Linked DNA regions of Homo sapiens: all the other regions are linked to region 2. Evidence: promoter capture Hi-C in 16 types of primary human blood cells and fetal thymus (Javierre and others, 2016). All regions are on one chromosome and are shown on one strand. Each heading gives the region's core, a stretch centred on a gene start or on the middle of the fragment in contact. The rest is flanking DNA. Distances are from core to core; before and after follow the strand shown. Region 1 holds the start of TAS2R9 (taste 2 receptor member 9). Region 2 holds the start of TAS2R46 (taste 2 receptor member 46). Region 3 holds the start of PRH2 (proline rich protein HaeIII subfamily 2).

Region 1 (4,611 bases), core at 332-2,831, 250 kb before region 2:
CATCATATATCATCTTAGATAGAATCTCATTAAAGATTGTTTTTCTCCCTTCTTGATCAAGACAAACCCTTCCAGAAATGGAGAGGAAAGGGCGGTGAAGATAAGGACCGGCCTTCATTTCAAAGTAGAGAGTTGTTTTGCATGATTGATTTTATAGCAAGGGTTGATGAGTTCTAAAATCTTTTCCCCAAAGCCTGTTTGCCTGACATTCTTCTACTCATTGAGTTCAAGGCCTTTGCCAGTATTTGTCAGAAAAGAAGTAGAACCTCTTTGTATTTAGTCAATGACATAAAATGATGAAATGTTAGTGTGGGATTTAGATGCATTTTTTTTTTCTGCAACGACAAAGAATATACGGTGCAATGATAACATTAGATTATCCATTAAACAAGACAAAAGTGTGAAGGAACACAAAACAAATCTTCAGAATCATGACAGATATTAATGACTTCCAATAGCATATAAGAGAAAATGAATGCAAACAAGAGAAGGGAGAATGCCTTTTGTTGATTTCTTTCATCCTTGTAGTCAGGATACTCTTTAGGGGTCTCTATGGAACAAAAGGCTTTCTTCTTCTAAGGAAACACTTCACAAATCTTAACATCTTCAGAAAAGCTTCCCTCAACTTGCTATTTCCCATAATTAGAATGAATGAATGGCTTGATGGGAAAATGACAGTTACTATGTCACCAATCATCAACACTAATTTTCCCTGAGGAATCAGAGCGCTAGAGGTCATAACAAGAAAGACTGGGTAGTACACGATGAGGAGGAGCAGAAAGATGATCACTGCCTTTATGGCCCTCATGTGGGCCTCTGTACTGGGGTCTCTGAACCCTGTAGCATGCAGTCGAATCTGCTTGGTGTGTCTAACTAGGGAGAAAAGTAACAAGAAAAATGAGATCAGGCAAAGGATAAAGGGAACCATCACCCCCAGGTTCAGGGTTAACTGTTTGAAAGTACCTGGAATTTTACTCACTTTGAATTTCCAAGTAATGTTTTCTTCATGACTGACTTTGAAAAGGTGATACCACATATCATCATTCTTTGGAACACTAATAATTAAAGAGATAAGAAAGGACCCCAGAAGAATCGCAAGCATGACCTTGTTGATCTTTAGCTTCAGCCAGAAGAAAAATGGGTGCGATATATTGGCTATCTTGAGTAAATAGAAGATACTGAGGCAAGAAGTAAACCAGAGACTTGAATTATTGGCAAATGTCCAGACAACATTCACAATGCTTACTAGCACGCTATTGCCATATGTACCTGGAAAGAGCAGCATAAAGAAGCCATCTAATGATATTACACACAGCAGACAGATTCTGGAGATGGCCAAGCTGATCAGGATGATGTCAATCAAGGAAATATCTCTTCTTTTGAGCCAGTCAATGCAGTTAACTAGTACAATGAATCCATTTCCCCAAATCCCTATGGTCAATTCACCAGCAATTAAAATAATATATATTGCCTCTATTGCACTTGGCATGCCAGCAAAGACTTGTGATTTTTGAATATCACTGATGATGAATTGACTTTCAGCTGACCAGTGAAGAACAATGTATCTGTCTGCCTCTTAGACCATGATATAGTTGTCTTTATCTCTCCTTTTTGTTAGCTGTGATGCAGATGAAGAAGATAGCCAGTCCTGCTCTGGGCTAGAGCTGCCTAAAGACTTCAATGATTGGGGCCAGTAATTTCCTTTGGTGCAGTGATGACTGAAAGCCTCTAGGATGCAAATGGGAATGGATCTGATTTCTTAAATTTGCACACTCTTTCTTATTTTAAGCTCTGTATATTTTGGATTTATCAATCTGAGCTGTTGACCAGGAACTTCAAGAAGGTATCAATTACTTGGAAAATATGGCTAGAATTTAATTTGCTGGATGACTATCCATCCTTGTTAGTATATTGACATAGTTATTGCTATTACAGATTCTAGGTTTACTGTGTTAGCTTGTGTGGCCAGTTTGCTTGCTTGGTTGACTAAAGCTTTAAACAAATTATTATTAACATTAAATGAGGCTTAAATGGCATAACTGGTGGAATGTAGAGGAAAGAATCTAAAGGTGTAGGAAGATAGGAGTATTAAGGTGAATTTATCATATGCGAACTTCACCTTCTCCCCATTATATGACTTAAGAGGGCCAAAAGGACACTCCATTCACTAGGGCATTGAGAAATACATTAATTAGGTAATTCCCAATATCCTCAAAAAGCTCTGCAGTGTTTGTCTTCTCAACTGAAGATACAATGAGGGAAATAAACATGACATTGTAGTGTTGTCAGCAAATGAGACACGGAAAATTCTGGTTTAGATGTTAGGGTTTCTTAGAGTGTTCTTGCTTTGTACCTGAATGTAGCTTCCATACATAGAAAAAATAGTCAAAATACTGGTCACTTATCTTTAGAATGGAAACAGATCAGCCTGAACAGTGAGGAGGACAAAGAGCAAGAAAGTGATATTTTTGGAACTAAAAAGCGTGATAGATATACAAGACTCTTCAGTCTGAACTGAGTGATAAGAATACATGCTCTGAATTTTCTTAGCTCTATTTTTTGGCAGCAGGTGTATTATAAATATTAGTATGCTAATTATACACACATTGGAAACACACTGTTTCATTGGGACATATTGAAACATGTCATTGGGCATAGTAGAACATATTTGAAATAATAGAAAAAGGCACACAGCAATACACAGTTCCCAGAAATATTATTTTGAAACTAATATTAAATTTTAAGGCAATATTAAATATTGCTTATCAAACAAACACAACAATACAAAGTATTTAATGAGATAATGTGTCATATGTTCAGGGTTTTAGACAAAATAAAGAGATAAAAATTAATCTTGCAGATTTTTATGAGAAAGTAAATAGCTATTGTTATTCTATTCAGTGAAATTTGGGGTTTCTTTCATGCTTCTCTGTGAATTTTGTTTCTGAAGAAATATCAGATTATACAACTCAAAAATACACACTGTGCTTGTCATGACCAAAGCCATAAAACAGGTAATATTCTGAGAAGGACTTCACTAGAGTAAAGAAATTGATTTGCATGCAACTGACAGACAAGGTCGCACCATGTTCACATCTCAGGGAATGCAATATTTCATTATTTTAATTAAACTTTTTGAAAGATAAAATTTTGTGGAGGGGAATAAAGTAGGTTCAAGGTTATTATTTGGAAATGGAACTACTCTGGGATCAATTTGTAATGTCCAGAAAAGATGAAGATGAAAATATATCATGTAGGAGGGTGATTAATAACTGACATATTAAAAATTCCTGGTAAATCCAGATATAGAATCCAAGCTTGCCTTCTGAATCATGGTCTTTCCCACTACCTCACTTCTTTTCCTTAGCCGTGTGGAATACTGATCAATTTAAGAAAGTTATGCCTATATTCAAATGTAAACGAAAATATGCTATAGGATATGACCAGAGTTACCTAAGGGCCTATACTTACTAAAATGCCACCCTCTTTTATCTTTCCTTGCTATAAATAAAACCCAAATGATCTCAATTTATTTGACACCGTTGAATATGTTTTTTTTGTGTGTATTGTGTGTGTGTGTGAGTTTATGTGTTATTTGCCCTTTGGATTTTATCTTAGCATTGAGAAGTTAAAGAGGGATCCTAGCTGACAGACTTTAACATCTATTTTCATTGCAGAAACACTTTAATCTAGAATGTTAGTTTATTGATTATTTCTGTCTCTACTAGAAAACAGATGAAATACTGGGAAACTTATGACATCATTTCCTGTATGTCTTTCTATGAGAAGTGAGCAAACACAAACCTACTTAGGCAGATATTTCTTAAATTTCATTTTCTTTCCTTTGTTTAAATACTTTTTACCATTCTTTAGAACCTTACATCTTTTACAGGCATTTGTCCTTGAGTTATGCCACTGATTATTACTGATCAAGAGAAATGACTATACTCTTCAGATTTATAAATCAAGAACAGGATACTGCGATACTGTCCTATTTTCTGACAACTTATATTTTGAATAGTTGCTGACTTTATCTCCTACCCCATTCTAAACTCTTCACTATATCCATTGGGATCCCTAGTAAACCATTAGCAGAAGCCATATATTCTCATTTGTTTCTCTAACAGTTCACTTTATTTTCTTCATTTGAACTCGAGGTTCTGGAACTTTTTTGTTCAATGGACTACTTTGCCAGTCTGGTGCATGCTATAATTTCAGAATAATGTTTTTAAGTGCATGAAATAAAAATATTTGAAATGTATAAGGAATCCATATATATATGCCTTTTTCTTGCAGTATGAAATATATTGTTAATATAATATAGGAATTTATGTGCTTTTTAATTGACATAACAAAAATATCTGGCAGATAAAGACTAGTGGTGAAAGTAAATGACAATAGGAGGTACCTGTAACGACAAAAATTTTTGGCTTCCTGAAGTGAAAAAATTACAGATACTGCTGGTATGGTATGTGCTTGTTACTTACATTCAAGACAGAAGAAATACTAGACTTAAGCTAAGGATTAATAAAAATAAGTATATAATTTGGTGCCCCTCCCAGTTCATTCATCACTCATGTCCATGAATCTTTTCATTTTAATACTCTACAA
Region 2 (4,661 bases), core at 136-2,635:
ATGAATTCGAAGCACACTGTGGTATATTTGTGTGGTTCAAATAACAATAGAAAACAGCAATGTCTTTCCTGAGATAAGCTGATAGTTCTTAATAATTATAAATATAGATCATAAATTATTCAAATGAAATATAAAATACATAAATGAAATAGGTATGGATTCATAATTCTTAAGAATTTTTGTCATATTTTGTATAATTTGGCAGTTTGTGTGAAAAAACAAAAAAGAGTATGTCACTGTCAATGTTCTTTTGTTTTTCATACAAACATACACACAAAAATACATATATATACATACGCACTTTTTTAGACTAACGTTAGGTAAAAGACTTTTCTAGGTACATGCTTGAAAGTTATTCATATACATACATTACAGAAAACACAGTAAGAAATATAAAATGCTTCATATAACACGTTTGTTTTCTGCTAGAAGATACACAATGCTGCTCTTGTGAATCTATGAAGATGAAGGCTTCTCTCCTTTCACCCAGTACCTCACATGCCACAAAACTGAAAGAAAAGTCTGCTTTAGCTTCTTGTTTCCCCAAATCAGGATGAATGGGTGGGTTGAAGGATAGCTGAATGCAATAGCTTCGCAGAACATGAAGACAGGTTTGTTTTCCAGACTCTCAAAACTCCAAACTGACATGATTATGGACAGAAAGTAAATGGCACATAACAAGAGGAAGGAGGTCACAGTTTGCAAAGCTTTTATGTGGACCTTCATGCTGGGATCTTGAGATCCTTTGCCATGGAGCTGCATCTTTTTGAGATGTTTACACAGAGAACAGATTAACAGCAGAAAAGATATCAGGGTCAGAGTGAAGGGAACTAAGTTTGCTAGGATGGTTACCGTTGTATTTGAAAGGTACATTGCACTCCTCAGTTTGATCTTCCAAGTCATGTTTCCTTCATATTCTTTTGTCCATATAATCTGATTCATGTTTATCACAAAAAGATGACAAACCAAAAATAGCAAAGGCCCCAATAGTATCACCAGAACAACACTCTTAACTCTCCTCTTTAAGTGAAGAAAAATAAGGTTGGAGAAATTGGCAATCTTGAGCAAATAAAATATGCTGAGGCTAGTAGCAAGCCAGTTGCTGAAATGGTTGATTACTGCCCAGACATTGTAAGCAGTAATTCTTACTTCTATACTGTTAAAAGCTGGATTCAACTCAGTTGCATACCAATTTAATACTAATACCCAGAGTAAACCAACTCTGGAGACTGCCAGAGCAGTGAGAATTTGGTCAGCAAAAGAGATCTTTTGTCTCTTGAACCACTCAATGGAATTTACCAATGCTATGAAGCCATTAGCAAAATTTCCAATCACAAATGTAACCACTATTAGAATGGAAAAAATGATGGGCAGAAAAGTTATCATGTCTGAACAGACAAAAAGAAATTTTTAAAATGCTGGTGTAATATCACTGGTTGTGATTGCTTGAATATCCTGACCTTAAATTCTATATGCACCTGATTTGTGTATGTGCTGTGACATTCTTTTTACTTTTAATTGCTGTGACCAGTGTCAAGCCAGAAATCACCATGGCATGCTAATGGGTAAGTTCAACGCTCTCTTTATGGAAAATATTCTTATTTTCAAAACAACTCAAATTAACCCATTCATTCACTGTCTGTCCTTGTTATAGGCTGGAATTATTCATACTGAAGTTGACATGAAACCTGAATTCTCATTTGCTAGTATGCAAACAAGGACATATTCACTTTCAGTGTTTGCAATTTTTCCTTGTGTAACCTCTCCATCATTTGTCTTTAGTGACTTCAGTTGTTAGGGAAGTTTTATAACCCAATACAGAGATCATATAGTAAATGTCTAAATTCTTAAAAGGAGCTTGGTCATAATTAAGTTCATCACCTATATGGACTTTTTTAAATGACAGATTTAAATACACAGAATCCAAACTGCTTTTATCAAAAATATCTAAGATTTTCTGGAGAACCTCAGAATCTGGTTGCTGCTAATACGTTTGTATAACTTCATTATTCACAAGCTCATAAATACACACACAAACACACACATGTGCACACCACTCACGAATGGAACAAATTATTTTCTCATCAGTTCCAAAATAAAAAAAGGAGTTTCCAGGAGGTTGTCTAGGTGAAGTTAGTCCTATTTTCCCACTCAGGGCTTTCAGCTCATGAATAATATTTATTTATCAAACATATCTCTAATTCTTAGGCCTTTGGTAAAGTTTCTCTCAAGACTAATGTTTAAATATTTATTACTATACAAAACATTTAGCAATTGTATAAGAATTCCTGAGTACCCAACCCTTTGATATATAGTCTTGCAGTATCCTGCCATCACTGAGAAGGCTGACTACCTTGCCCCTGAACTTGGAGTACAACCATTTAACTTGCTTTGATAAACAGAAAATTACTACACTTTGCATAGAGATTTCAGATGGCTTCCATAATGGGGATTCTTCCTCTTTCCATTTACCATGAGAATATCACCTGGCTAGTACACTGTTCCCAGAAGGAGAGTGAGAAACTAATGAAGTCAGATTGCCCCCACCTGATCCAGACCAAATTGGCCAAACTCTAACTACTACCAAGATTCAGAATTTGGTCCATTTCAAATAAACAGAGCCATCCACCAAACCCAGCTTAAAAAAAATGAAATCCAACAACATGTGAGATATAAACATCTAATGTAGTTTGGAGGGTTTTTCTCTTGCAGAAAAACATAACTGATAAATCAACTCTGCTAAACCAAGAGTGTGGGAAATATGTACAACCTTGTTGTGTCAGGAATTCAGGAGCCAAAAGCAAAAACAGATGGGAAATTGCAAAGGTTTGTTCTTGTGAGGTCGATAATTAAGGCTAGAAGAAATCCATTGGAAAGTTCTGGGGTTGGAGGATAACATCATCTCAAATTTCCTCACGTTGCAACTAAATAAGAAAGTGCTCACTTCAACTCCCTTAGAGTTGTATAACAATGTATACAAATAGTTTATTATTGCCATCAGTATATAATGAGATGAATAATAATAATTTCTATGAGACATATCTCCTAATTAAACATTTTACATTAAAATTATAATGCACACTTAGAAATGAACCAAAACAAAAATGGGAAATACCGCAGTGTATCATAAACATTCAAGTAACCATGATGCAGGCAAGACAAGGAACACCAAACACAACCTAGGTCCACCTCCATGCCACTTTCCAAGTCCCTAAACATTTCTTCATACCTCCTGAGATAAGCAATATCCAAAATTTATGGTGATTATTTCCTTAATTTTCTTTACACTTTACCAACTAGGTATGCAACCCTAAACTCCATCGCTTGGTCTGGCCTGCTTTGCACTGCGTGTAGGTGCAATCCTACATGTTCTTCTTGTTTGTGGCTTCTTGGACTCAACATTGTGTTTCTGAAATTTAGTCACATAGTTGCAAGTACATGTGATTTTTTTTCACTTCTCTATACTGTTCCATTGTGTGGATTTACTGTAATGATTGATCTATCCTTAATATATATTTGGCCAGCTTCTTTTTTGAACAGTTACGAATAATTCTACTAGAGCATTCTTTCATATATCATTTGATGCAATTCCTCTGTATATATACCTTTGAGTAGAATTACAGGGTCATTGTGCAAAATATCCTCATAGACATAGAAAAGTTTAAAAGATAATTTAACTAAATGTACTCCTGTCAGCTTTACCTCCATTCTATTTTTTGCCATTTGCATGTATCTTATCAATTATATAATTACCCCAACAAGACATTATTATTTTATGCAGTAAACATTCATTTAGAATTATGCACATATTTACCACTTCATTAATTTGTATTCCTTTTTGCATATTCAATTTAATAGTTTCAAAAAGTCCTTTTATTGGCAAGGCAGGGTGGCTCACACCCATAATCTCAACATTTTGTAAGGCTGAGTCAGGAACACCCAGGAGTTCAAGACCAGCCTGTGCAACACAGCGAAACTGTGTCTACAATAAATGAAAAAGCCAGGCATAAGGAAGCTACTCACAAGGCTGAGGTGGGAGGATGGTTTGATCCCGGGAGTTCCAGACTGCAGTAAGCCATGATCCTACCACTGAACTCCAGCCTGGACACCAGATTGAGACTCCAACTCCACATAGAATAATACTGATAATAATAATAATTTTTCTATTATCTGAAAAAAATATCATTTTAAGTTTCTGTTTATCAAGGTCTATTCTACTTTTGAAATGCACTGAAGGCATGATTCCATTGAATTCTAGCTTCATTTTTGTCTGTTGAAAATCAGGTTGTCATTTAGACAGTTATTCCCTTTAACATAATCTGTCTTTTCCTTTAGTTACCTTTCAGGTTTTTTATTGGTCTTTGATGTCCTGTCATTTTATATTAATTTGGTTTTAGTTATCTTGTCTGAAGTTTGATGGTTTCTAAAAATATATGAACTGATACACTTTACCACTTTTGGAAAAATCTCCACAATGCTTCTGGCCCATTTTCTCTCTTCTAATCTTCTGGAACTGCAGAAGTATGTTAGTTGTTCTGATTGTAGCTTCAATGTCTCTGACCCTCTAGCCTTATATTTTCTACCTCTTGGTCTCTTTATGCTTCATTCTGGGCAGTTATCTTCCAATTCACTAATTCTTTCTTATGTTTAACTGGTTCTCA
Region 3 (5,001 bases), core at 2,453-4,952, 130 kb before region 2:
TACATTGACTGGGTTTTCATAATCACAAAAAACGAATAAATTTGTATGAGTATCTTTATATGAAGGCAAGGAGGAAAACAGGTGAATGGAAGCCTACGTAAATGTGCTTATGATTTAAAACAAACTTATTTCCTCAGGAAAAATATATTTTTCACCTCACCTGTTAAAGTCTTAGGAAAGCTTAACCTTGATAATCTCCTAATAACAGAACTTATGTTTCTTTTCTGAACCTCATTCCTTCTCATATTGTAATAATGAAATGAATAAATGAATAGCAAGTGAGTAGTGGTGCACACTAAACTCTGAGTACTGACTGCCTTCTATTCCACTTAATACCTTTATAAGAACATTGTTATGTACCTAAGTCATGTCATCTATAAAACTAAGGTAATGATAACAATCATATGTCCCTAATATAATGGTTTTGATGATTAAGTGGAACATAGTAAATGTTTAAAAATGTTTTCTATTATAACCAATTTGGCTAGGATAGGTGGAAAGAATAGAAATATGATAATTAATTGTGAAATGTATAATATATATTAATAGGTCATCAACATCAAATTAAAAAATATAGATGATTACCATGATAGTGAAACCAAAGTTTTTAGACAAGTCAAAGCAAAGTTGAAGTCTCAGAGACCATTGTGTTTATTTGCTAACTGTATTATCAGACTGCTTAGTTGATACAGTGAATACAATAATTCTTCCAATGTACATAAACTGCCAGACAAGCAACTCAATGCAATTCACTCACTCTCGGAGAAGTTTATCCCCTCTGCCAATGTTCATCTTTCCTGGCAAACCATCCTTCAGTATTCCAGGCAAACTAGAGCAAGGTGAAGTTGAAGAAGATCCTACTTTATATTCCATTCAGAGAGCTTCCGGGTCTTCAAAAAAGATTTAGTCATGTGGGTGTGAAAGAGCTGAGTCATGAAATTTGGACCTTATTGTAAGTCCAGAAGGAAAAACAAGGGGTTTGAAGCACAAGGGTGATATGATCTAATTTCTACTTTTAAATGATCACTCTGATTGTCGTGAGGGAACTGATATGGGATGTACTGGGGGAAGAATGTTACCAGGACCAGGTCGAGGCTGTTAAAGACCTCCAGGAGAGAGCATTGTGGGCCGAACAACAAGCTTCTAGTAAAGATCATGCAAGTGGACACATTTGAGATGTATTTTGAAGGTGGAAGAAATTAGATAAGCTAATGGGTAGTGCCTGGAGGGAGTGAGGATTTTTGAACCACTAGGTAAACACCTGTGAGTAACAGAGAAAAAGTTGGGATGTGTTATGAAAGATGAATCCTAAAATTTCATATGTTGAAGACTGATGCTTCAGGACCTCAGAATGTGAACATCCATAGTAGAAGGGAATTGTGTTGTTGACGGCTGCCACCCACTCTAGGTGCCCAAGCTCCTGCAGCAGTCCTACTTCTCCCTTTCACCCACACTCACTCCCAGACAGTGTCCCTTTCAGCTCTTCCATCACCCCTTCTTTTGATTTGGCTGGTGAGAGCATAGCTGGTATTTATACTTTCTTGATATGCTAGTCTCTTTTGCTGATTGTTGACATTGGAGAAGGTCATGGAAGGGACCTGAGCTGAGCGACCTTTAGGAGCATTTCCTGTTCTTTTCCTGTACTCTGCTGCCAAGGAGAAATCTGTCTTTCACCAGGCTTGCAGCTTTCTCCGTTACCCACATCATCAGGCAATATCTGTCTGGCACCCCTCTTTGTTCCCTTTCTCTGGCCTTCCTTTTTGACATGATGGTTGACCTGAAATCACCAAGGCAGGACTGCTCATCTCCAGGTCTAATGGAAAACAGTATCTGGTGAAACCAAAGAAAATAATCCCAGTAACCCACTGGGAGCTGCTTGGCTTAAGCACCTACCCTGTGCCTAAGATACAACCCATCAAGCCCAGCTAAAACTGATCCAGTTTCCACAGGGCCAGAGAAGAATTGCCAATTAAGAATGCATTCCCACTTCAAATATGTCTATATTTATTTCAGGGAAAATATCAGTCTGCCTGGGTCCCTTATGAGAACATTGTTGTCTGTAGAAAAATCTAATCTATTAGGAAGCCTTCTTGTTTTGTTATCTGCAACTCTTCAGAAGGGCCAGACCAGACCCTCGTATGCACAGTACAGGATCCACCCATGCACATCTGTCTAGGGCCTTGTCTTTATGATTTTCTGTCACATGGCCTCTCAGCCATGCCTCCAACCAAGCTATCCTCAAATAAACACTAGCCGTGCACAAAAAGTGAAAAATTACACAAGGCCTACACAAGGTCTGAAATGGAAAGTGCAGCTGGTGATACCGAGTAGTATATTTTATGAATTGAGGAACAGGGAATTTCTAGGTATCACAGAGCAATCAGCAGCTGAGAAGAGGAGTACCAATCCAGGACCCTGGAAGGATTTTTCAGAAACTTAATAGTTTATTGTCCAATTGTAGAGACAAAAATGAAAATAAAGATAGTGAGGAGTACCATACACCATTGCTTAGAAGATTAAATAAATGTCATCTCCCACAAGTCATGTGGGGAGAAAAAAACTATATAGGAAGAAAATTACAAACGACAAGGTAGTCTCAGCATATAAAATATCAACAAATGAATGTAAGAAAGAGAATGAGAAAGAATTAGTATTAGAATATCATAGAAAAAATCATCTTTGTGAAAGAAAACTCTGATGAAACTGGTGACATAAATACTGAGTAAAAAACAGAAGACCAATCAAGGCATTTGAGGCTTGAACAGGCATTACAAATCATCAAGTTGAATATATAAGTATGGCCACTTAGTTATTAGTGGTGAAGACTACGGTATTTGTTAGAAGAAATAAAGTAGATGATGAATTCTATAGAATATTCTGGAGAAAGTGGAGGTCTTAGCTACATGACATCGTGTGGCTCACTTTGGGAACCATGTTTCAGTTTGTTTAGGTCTAGAAATTCCTTGGTGGTTTCTGTGTTCAGTTTTGCTTTAATAATCCCTAAAGATATTTTTTAAAATACAAATTTTTTAGCTTTCCTGTATTGTACAGCACCAACGCTTGCCTGAGTGTAGTGAGATTCACAGAGTTTGGAAATTTCCTGTAGCATGAGGAGGCTGCGGGGCAGCCTTCTGTCATCTATGTGTACCCAGCAGTGTGCTGTCCTCACACAACTCACGGATAAGCAGAAAGCATCTCTATTACATGAAAAATTTAGCTAAATATACAAATATCCATGCACACACATCATGAGAGATGGAAATAGGCTATCAAAAGAGTCAGACATATTGACCGTCTTCACTGTTAGCTGTAGGATTGCTGCCCAACCCCCTGACACACCCACACAAACTCACATACACACAAATGAAAAGCACAGTGGAAAGCAGAATAGCAGTCTTTCCAAACAGATTGAAAAACAAATGATGTCTAAAGTTCAATCCTGACACTGTGCTGATTGCTTGGACACAGTTCCGTCAAAACATTTGTCCAAGTCATAGTTGTACCTTTTAGAAATTAGCCACAAACAACATCCTCCCCAACCCTTCCTGCTAGGCTAGAGTCCCAGAAGAAATGAGGGATACACTTGACCTGAAGTAAGCAAAGCAGAACCCAGTCTCTGAGGCGAGGAGGCCCACCTGGTAGGGAGCTCAAATGCGCCATTGTCCTGCTTGTCTTTATAAAGGGAGCTGACACGTTTCTCCCAGCATAAAGTTGGGAGTGACACCAGAGCCTTCTGCAAGATGCTTCTGATTCTGCTGTCAGTGGCCCTGCTGGCCTTCAGCTCAGCTCAGGACTTAGATGAAGGTAAGCCGAATTGGGGGAAGATATTGTGACTCTGATTGGGGTTTACGGGCGAATGCTATAGAGGGGGAAAGTGGAGGGAAGAGAGGAGGATGAGAAAACAGATAGGACTGAAGAGTTCTCATGCCAAGGATCAGAAGACCTGTTGTGCCTTCATTCCTCATCAAGACCTCATAATTTATTGATTGCACAAATAGAACCCAATAAAGAATTTGTACCGGGGGAGTGAGAGAGTGAGATTTGCATTTATAGAGACATGGGACTGCTGGGAAGGATATGGAGAATGCAAGACAGATTCAGGGAAGTGCAGCTGTGAAGATCCTATACTGATCCCAGTAGACAGGGATGATGGTGGCCTTGCTGGACAGTGGATGAGTATCCATGAAGGAGATAAACACATGTCAGAGCTATTGCTGAGGCAGAGAATTGGGTAAACACTTGCCTCTGTCTACATAGAGTTAGAGAATCACCAGAGTGAAATATTGTCATTTTTTTCTCTCCTGCATGTAGTATTTTAATGTGCTGGGACGGGCATTTGTAAGATTGTATCTAAGTGGCTATGTCTGGTGGCTCCTGTTGAGAAAGCTTGCAAACATAAACAACATATTTACAGATGAAAGAGGGCAGAAGGATCCCCAAATATTTCATTGAAATACTCAAGAGCCCTTTAACTAAATAAGCACTAAGGCTTAAGGAATCATGAGAGGACAAACAGGGGCCCTTCTATGTTGAGTTCCTGGTTGACGCTCAGTGTAGTAACAATCCTGCTTTCCCTTACATCTTCTTCCACTTCCGGTAGCATCAGAGAGTGGCTGATGAGATCTCAAAGGGGATGCACAGGGTGTGATCAGAGGTCCTTTATCCTCGTAGAACACTATGAGCTCTGAATGATTCATGCAGTAACTTTTCCCATCATCCTGTACTTCTTTTCTAGATGTCAGCCAAGAAGACGTTCCCTTGGTAATATCAGGTAAATCCCAATAAATTCTCAGTAAACTCTGTCTCCATTTTTCCCTGAAAAATTGATCAGTTCTCCAGTGTCTTCTTATCATCCTTGTCAGGAATTGGCTAATATCAGTGCCCCAGAGATATAAACAGTTTTCTCCCAACCTTGATTCTGGGGACCATGAGTAAAGAAATTTGATTTTTCACCACCCTAATGTGGATTAAGAGGAGTTCTAATTAGGAAGCCTTGGGAAG

What was found. The method cuts DNA at HindIII sites, captures the fragments that hold promoters and counts their contacts. A CHiCAGO score of 5 or more calls a contact.
Region 1: a contact is called between the fragment with the promoter of TAS2R9 here and the fragment with the promoter of TAS2R46 in region 2, in 4 of 17 cell types (total CD4 T cells, naive CD8 T cells, naive B cells and 1 more). The highest score is 7.2, in total CD4 T cells.
Region 3: the fragment with the promoter of PRH2 here is called in contact with the fragment with the promoter of TAS2R46 in region 2 in 2 of 17 cell types (activated CD4 T cells and non-activated CD4 T cells); the score reaches 5.8 in activated CD4 T cells.

Annotation. Positions count from the first base shown.
Region 1 is chr12:10,808,587-10,813,197 of GRCh38, forward strand. It overlaps TAS2R9 (taste 2 receptor member 9), which reads right to left and starts at 1,582. Exons shown (of 1, transcript NM_023917.2): 1 at 508-1,582. The coding sequence starts at 1,489. The coding sequence ends at 551. The HindIII fragment of the contact is 1,377 bases long and covers 614-1,990 here.
Region 2 is chr12:11,060,909-11,065,569 of GRCh38, forward strand. TAS2R46 (taste 2 receptor member 46) reads right to left here and starts at 1,386. Exons shown (of 1, transcript NM_176887.2): 1 at 457-1,386. The coding sequence starts at 1,386. The coding sequence ends at 457. All of the region lies in intron 1 of PRH1-TAS2R14 (PRH1-TAS2R14 readthrough), which reads right to left. All of the region lies in intron 1 of PRH1-PRR4 (PRH1-PRR4 readthrough), which reads right to left. It also overlaps a transcript of PRH1 not described here. The HindIII fragment of the contact is 4,910 bases long and covers 706-4,661 here.
Region 3 is chr12:10,925,534-10,930,534 of GRCh38, forward strand. It overlaps PRH2 (proline rich protein HaeIII subfamily 2), which reads left to right and starts at 3,703. Exons shown (of 4, transcript NM_001110213.1): 1 at 3,703-3,804; 2 at 4,736-4,771. The coding sequence starts at 3,741. The region is part of intron 4 of PRH1-PRR4 (PRH1-PRR4 readthrough); the gene reads right to left. It also overlaps a transcript of PRH1 not described here. The HindIII fragment of the contact is 3,246 bases long and covers 1,139-4,384 here.